Regions from separate parts of the Homo sapiens genome. Here region 1 is linked to region 2. Evidence: promoter capture Hi-C in human tissues and cell types (Jung and others, 2019). All regions are on one chromosome and are shown on one strand. The core of a region is centred on a gene start or on the middle of the fragment in contact, and the rest is flanking DNA. Distances in the headings are between cores, read along the strand shown.

The links. Contacts are between HindIII fragments. The study calls those that stand out against the background at their distance.
Region 1: a fragment that was not itself captured here is called in contact with the fragment with the promoter of BMP2 in region 2 in 1 of the 25 tissues and cell types used here (dorsolateral prefrontal cortex).

The regions. Positions count from the first base shown.
Region 1 is chr20:7,839,238-7,842,359 of GRCh38, reverse strand. No RefSeq gene overlaps it. Among named protein-coding and RNA genes, the nearest start is that of HAO1, 100 kb to the left of the region's middle. The HindIII fragment of the contact is 3,038 bases long and covers 1-2,935 here.
Region 2 is chr20:6,765,882-6,769,129 of GRCh38, reverse strand. It overlaps BMP2 (bone morphogenetic protein 2), which reads right to left and starts at 1,444. Exons shown (of 3, transcript NM_001200.4): 1 at 255-1,444. LOC105372517 (a long non-coding RNA gene) reads left to right here and starts at 1,646. Exons shown (of 4, transcript XR_937229.2): 1 at 1,646-1,809; 2 at 2,325-2,730; 3 at 3,122-3,248. RefSeq lists cis regulatory regions at 765-939, 1,580-1,679, 1,686-2,476, silencers at 1,311-1,360, 1,451-1,500 and promoters at 390-1,549, 939-1,580, 390-3,248. The HindIII fragment of the contact is 20,905 bases long and covers 1-3,248 here.

The DNA of each region.
Region 1 (3,122 bases), core at 167-2,666, 1.1 Mb before region 2:
TGTAAGGACATCATGAGTGGCTGAGGAAATTCCATAAGCCATTTTTTTTAAAACCATGGCTTGAGCTATTGGATTTCTATAGGATGGTTTTTCTCTTCTACTCTGTGAGTATAGCCCAGCCTTCCATTCTTCTAATGCTCATTGGTTCTGTTACAGAGTCTGGGGATGGAAAAGGTTGCTTAGGTGTCAGCCAAGACACTCCCTCTGCTTGGGGGAGAGCAAGCTGCCAGCCCGACTATCCGCTTCCTGCCAGCTTAAGGAGCTTATGACTCAGATTCAAGCAAAACACTGAGCTGAAGCAAAAAGGGAGGGAGGGAACCTTAGCTCAGATGAAGGCTCTAGGGCCAAACTGCATCACTGAAACATCCAAGTCAGGGAAACCCATCAGACCAGGAGGCTATGTGATTTTGTGTTTGTCCTCTGCTTCGAAAACCACAAACATATGCTTACACACAACTCCATTTCTCTCCTACTCATACAGACATATTTCCCCCTGAGCTGAAATCCTGAGGCTGTTGCACCCTCCTGCAGGAAAAGCTACTCTTGGGAGCTGGTCTGAGTATTAGCCATCTCTCAGATTCTGTGATAGCAGAGAAGTCTTCACCAGATGTTATGATTCAGCTGGTGTGTCCAGTTGTCCCTCCTTGCCTTGTGTTGCCCGAGTTTCCATTTCTCACAGAAGGAGGTGTTGAGGGAAGACTACAGACTTATTCAGGAATAACACTGAAATCCAGACACATGTGTTTCAAAATCCTCTGTGATTCCAGTAGCTTCCTGGATATTGCTCTGGTGGCTGAGCTGCTGCCAATGTTGACTTGCTGGTCATTTGAAAGCCAAACTCTACCCCTGAGGAAAGGTACTGGATGAATTATAGAAATCTCTATTCTTTCTTTTCTTTCCTCCTTCCATTACTCATGTACATACCCACATCCCTCCAGCTCCTTCCAGTTGTCTCCTTGTGAGTAAACATTAGTCATTTTCTACAAGTTCCTTACCTCCATTCACTAAAGAGGAATGTGTAATCTCTTTGATTGAAGTTGAAAGTACTGACCTATGTACTTTTGTGTTAAGTATAGTTTATAGTTAATACTACACACATACTCCTTCATGTATGATTGTATTTAATATACATAATCTTCCTAAAATTCAACTTTGGTCTATGTCTTTATTTTTTGAGAAATCCTAAAAACTCTCAGTCAACTGCCTGGGGCCAGATTCCTTAATGCCATTTGGAAATCTTTATGATCTGGACATGACTTAAGCTTCTAGTCTCACCTCACTTAGCATCACTCCTTAAACTGCCTGAGGCTGGTCTCCTTAATCCCCCAACCCAATTTAATTGCCCCTCTCTTTGAAATGCCTTCTTCTAACATCTGTCTAATCCCAAATATTTTTAAAACCCAAGCCCACGTCAGTTCATTATCTTTGTTGAGGCAAATTGAAGGAGAGGGAAGAGGATAAGAATAAGAAGAAATAAGAGAGAACAGAGATAAAGAATAAATAAATGTGTTGAAGCTTAAGGGGAAAGAAGCCCGGTTATGATGTGTGGTTTCCTTGGGAAAGTCTGGCATTATTATACGAAGTTCATTATAGACAGCCCCTTCTTCCTGCCAACACTTCAAGAAGCTCAGAATACAGATTTATCAGTGCACCAAGAGCTGCTAATCCCAGTCAGAAAAATCTATTATTTTTATTCGAGGGAAATCATATTTTCCATGCTTAACAGTGACAGATATGTGGGATGTCAAATTAGAATCAGATGGTAGTTTAGTGGGCATGGATACCATGAAAGTGGAATTAGTTGGAAGAACTAAATTCCAGTTACAATTTAGCCTGATAGTTATATCTCTTTCATCCTTGAGGACTCTTCAATAGGGGTACCAGTGGATCTAAATTGTGCTAGACAGGTTCTCAAGGTTATATCTCTATGCTTCCAAGGCTGATCAATGCTGTTTCTATCAAATGCATTTCTTTCTCAAGTATGCTAACACTGTCCCTCTGGGAACTATCCAGGCTTAGATGGAGAGTCTCCTGCCTCTTTAAGGTATGTATCTCTACTCTAATCCATTACCTGGGAGCTTCACTGTTTAATAATATTACCAGTTATGCCCCATAGTTGGTTCCAGTGAGGCTCTAATACTAATTAGTTTTATATAGTACTTTGTCTCTAGTAGTTTCTCAGTAAATATCTGTTGACTAATAATTTGTTTACCACATTTGTAGGCTATTGTATATTCCCTTGTCTAGAAAAGGCCAGGAGTATAATTAATAATTCAGAGTTACTGGCTGAAATTTTCCAAAAAGCTTCAGATCAAGAATGAGATCATTGGAGAAGGGGAAATGGGTAAGGCACACAATATAATTTTGCTTTAAAATACAATTAAATGGCCGGGCGCGGTAGCTCATGCCTGTAATCCCAGCACTTTGGGAGGCCGAGGCGGGCGGATCACGAGGTCAGGAGATCAAGACCATCCTGGCTAACATGGTGAAACCCCGTCCCTACTAAACAAAATACAAAGAATTAGCTGGGAGTGGTGGCGGGTGCCTGTAGTCCCAGCTACTTGGGAGGCTGAGGCAGGAGAATGGCATGAACCCGGGAGGCAGAGCTTGCAGTGAGCCGAGATGGTGCCACTGCACTGCAGCCTGGGCGACAGAGCGAGACTCCGTCTCAAAAAAAAAAAAAAAAAAAATACAATTGAACAATTTATATTTTTCTTGATGTAAAGGACTTCAGATATATTGAAACTAACCATTTCTTATTTCATAAATACATTAACTAAGGCTCATTTATGTTGATTGTGTTGCTCAAATTCAAAAGAATGGTCAGTGACAAAGTGGGACAAGATTCCACATCTTCTAACTTCTAGGCAAACGGGAAGAATCCCATTAAGCCATTTTTCAATTCTGGAGTCTGAGAATGTCGTTACTTGTTCTTTGTATTTCTTCATGGCCTTCCAGGGGCCAATAGAACAATAGTCACCAGATTTAGGAAATTTCACTATTGTTACCAAATATTTATGTCCAAAGTTCTTTATGTTCATTATTATAGTTTGTAATGAAATAAACATTGCTATAGTTACTATGGAGTTAGACTAAAATTTCAACATATGCTGCTTGAAGGG
Region 2 (3,248 bases), core at 195-2,694:
AAGTGTTAACAGCTCCAAAAGTATTCCAGGGAGAGGGGAAGAAAGAGGGGTGGAAGAGTGCGGGCCGGGAGGGTGAGGCTTACGGTCGCCCGGGGCAGCTGGAAGTGGGAGCCCCTGCAGGGCTCCGTTGCACGTGGACTGGAGAGGGGTCTGTTTACTTCTGGCCTGGACGTAAGGAAGGGCTCTACCGCAGTGGCTGCCCAAATCCCCCTCCCACCCACCACCCACCCCGGGCCCTGGCCCGCGTCCTCTACCTTTAGGAGACCGCAGTCCGTCTAAGAAGCACGCGGGGACACGTCCATTGAAAGAGCGTCCACATGGAAAAACTCTGGTCAAAGGACCTGGCGCAAGGACCGAATGTCCGTTCCTTTTCTTTGCCTCCTCCTTCTCCCGGGTGCCGGCCGCGCAGTCTCTCTTTTCACGCTGGGAACAGCGTCTCAGTGTCGGGCAAGGCCGAGGAGTGGAGGGGCGGTGGGGCTCGGAGATGGCGAAGCAGGCTCCGCTGGGGCAAAGGCACCGGCGCAAAGTGGGGTGCGCAAGTTATTCTCCCTGCAAGTTCAAGAAGTCCCCAGCCAAGTGCTGACACACAACAACAGCGAGCAGGGGGAGGAGTGCGGGGCAGGGAAGGGAAGGGAGAAAGGAGAAGCTGGTGCTGTCGTCCTCCTTAGGAACCAGCGCCCGAGGGACGCGTGGCCCCGCGCGGGGCCGGCTCCGGGACTCGGGGGTCGAGGGTCGGGCGCTCCGCGCTAGCTCCGCCGCGGCCCATGGCTCGGGGCAGCCATCCTGGGCGACGCCGGGTCCAGGGAAGGGCACGGCGGCGATCTCGGTGCCAGGCGAGTTGCCCCCCCGCATCACTCTGCCTTACTCCAGTGCACCCCCATTCGCGCTCGCCAGTTGAAAGCACCGCGGCTCTGGCGCCCCGTCGTCCTCGGGCGCATTCTCCGGCGAGTCGAGCCGAGTCCCGGGCCGCCGAGGCGGGTGGCTGTGCTCTCCCCTCGCTCTCCTAGCCCTGGGGCCAAGTGCCCTTTGTGGCTAGCCTGGGGTCCGATCACACCTCGGCCAGCGCGTCCCAGGCCCCCGATCTCCTGCAGTAGGTGCTCCGCATCGCGGCGCTAGGGATCGGCTCCGGAGTCCCCGGCGCTCTGCGCGCCCGTCCGCGGCTCTGGCGCAGCCCGGGCAGCAGAGGCCACGGCGCTGTGGCGCGCTCTGCCGGGTGCTCCAGCCCGCGCGGGGTCTGCGGCGCGCGGGTGCCTCGCGGTCCCCGGTGATCCACTCGGCGCTGGCCCCGAGAACGTTCGGGTAGCCGGCGGAGGCTGTGGCGGCAGATGTGCGGCGGCGGCTGCCAGTCCCCGGCGGGGTGTGGGAAGCGGAGCGACTAGCGCAGCGCGAGCCGGGCGCAGCGCGGCGGGGCGAGGACTCCGGCGGCGGCGACGGCGGCGGCGGCGCCGTGGCGCGGCGCTCGCGGCTTTTAAAGGGGACGCCGCCTGCCGGCTCCCTCCCGGCCGCGGCCGAACACCTCCCCCTTCGCGGCGCGGCTCGCCGGGGATCCCCGAGCGGGCGGGAGCTGCGCGCAGGGGTGTGGACGGCGCGCCCGGGCAGCCGCGGCGGGGTGGGGCGGAGGGCGGGGGCGCGCGGCCGCCAAGGGGGGCGCTCGCGCCTCCACTCCCTGCTCTCAAAGGAGAGATCAGCTGGCGCGCCGGACCCTCGCGGGGACTCTGGAGGCGAAATCCAGGACAAATGCAGGGTCAGGGTCTGGCCTCTTATTTCCCCGCTGGGCCCGTTATTCAACTTTCAGTTTGAAGTTTTTCGGTAATATACGATTTCAAAAAACAAAACAAAACAAAACACCTCAATTACAGCGTATTTTGGCATAGCATAGACGTGGGATCCACGCTTCTGTTTCCCCGGAATAGGAGGAAAATTAAAAGAAAACAGCAGGCTGGAAATTGAGTGTTTTTAAACATTAATACATAGAGATGTATGTATTTACATATGTAAATGCATGTGTACAAATTTTTTTACATAAATGTGTATGCATTTATTTTCATATCCATACGCATGTAAATTTATAGTTACATAAATATATCCAATATACAAAAATATGTGCATATATTTCTATAAATATATTCATGTATGAGAATATATGCAACCGAAGGGCCACATTTCGGTTAATATGTCTATGTATGTGACATGGATGTCATCCTGCTTTACGTGACATGTGTGTAACGTAGACTGCGTGTGTGGCAGACTGAAGGATGGATGGGAGGGATTTGATTTTTTTATTGTACAATCACTTTGTGCCTTGTGATATTTATCTCACCCAGCTCAGAGGCAGGCGATTAGCAGCTCAGAGGAAGGTAAAATAACGCACTGTGTGAACCAAGCATACAGGACAATTCCAGTTTGGGACCTTGGAACCTTCTACGCCACCCTCTTCCACCAGGCCCCCAAGAAGTAGGGCTGTGACACGTGGCCAAGTCACTCCTCAGCTGAATATTCACTGAAGTCACTCCTCAGCCGAAATACTGCTCAGAGCTGCTGCACGATGAGTCTGGGGCCAAGGCTTTCTGCCCTTCCCAGGATTCCAGGAGCCCCCATGCACAGCACCTCGGGCTTGCCCAAATGATCCCCAAAACCAAGGGCAGAAAATTTTTGGAAAAGGCCAAGTTCTGCTTTCCCAGAGCTATCGGGCCTGCGAAACAGAGAGAAAAAAGTCAGAAGCAGGAGCTGGTAATAGAACTATTATCCATGTGTATTATTTTTTCGGTAGGGGAGCTAAAATAATACTAGGTTCCGCTCACGTAAATCGGATTAGCAACCCACAGAGGCGAATTAGGCACTTGCTGTTTCTAAAGGTATAAAGGTCAAATAAGGTATTTTGGAGGAAGCCTGACTACCAGGAAAATAAAAGGGGGTGGGGGAATTATTCAGGAACATGCTACTTTATTTCCTGAAAAAAAAAAAAAAGGTGCTATAGAAGTTGATTGTCACTCAGAGTCATTGCACCGCAAACAAGGAGGCAATAAAACATATCCTACTCATGGACACAGGGCTTCTGAAATTATTTCCTTTCCTATCAAGTTTAATTGAGAAGTTAACAATTGTTTCTCTCATTACTTAGATTTCAAAAACAAAACAAAACAAAACTTCAATGAGATTTAAGTAGCTTTTAAAGAGGAGGAAAAGTTGATAACTATTGGATGCACCCGAAGAAAAAATAAATAAATATCCTGTGATGACCTCAAGGA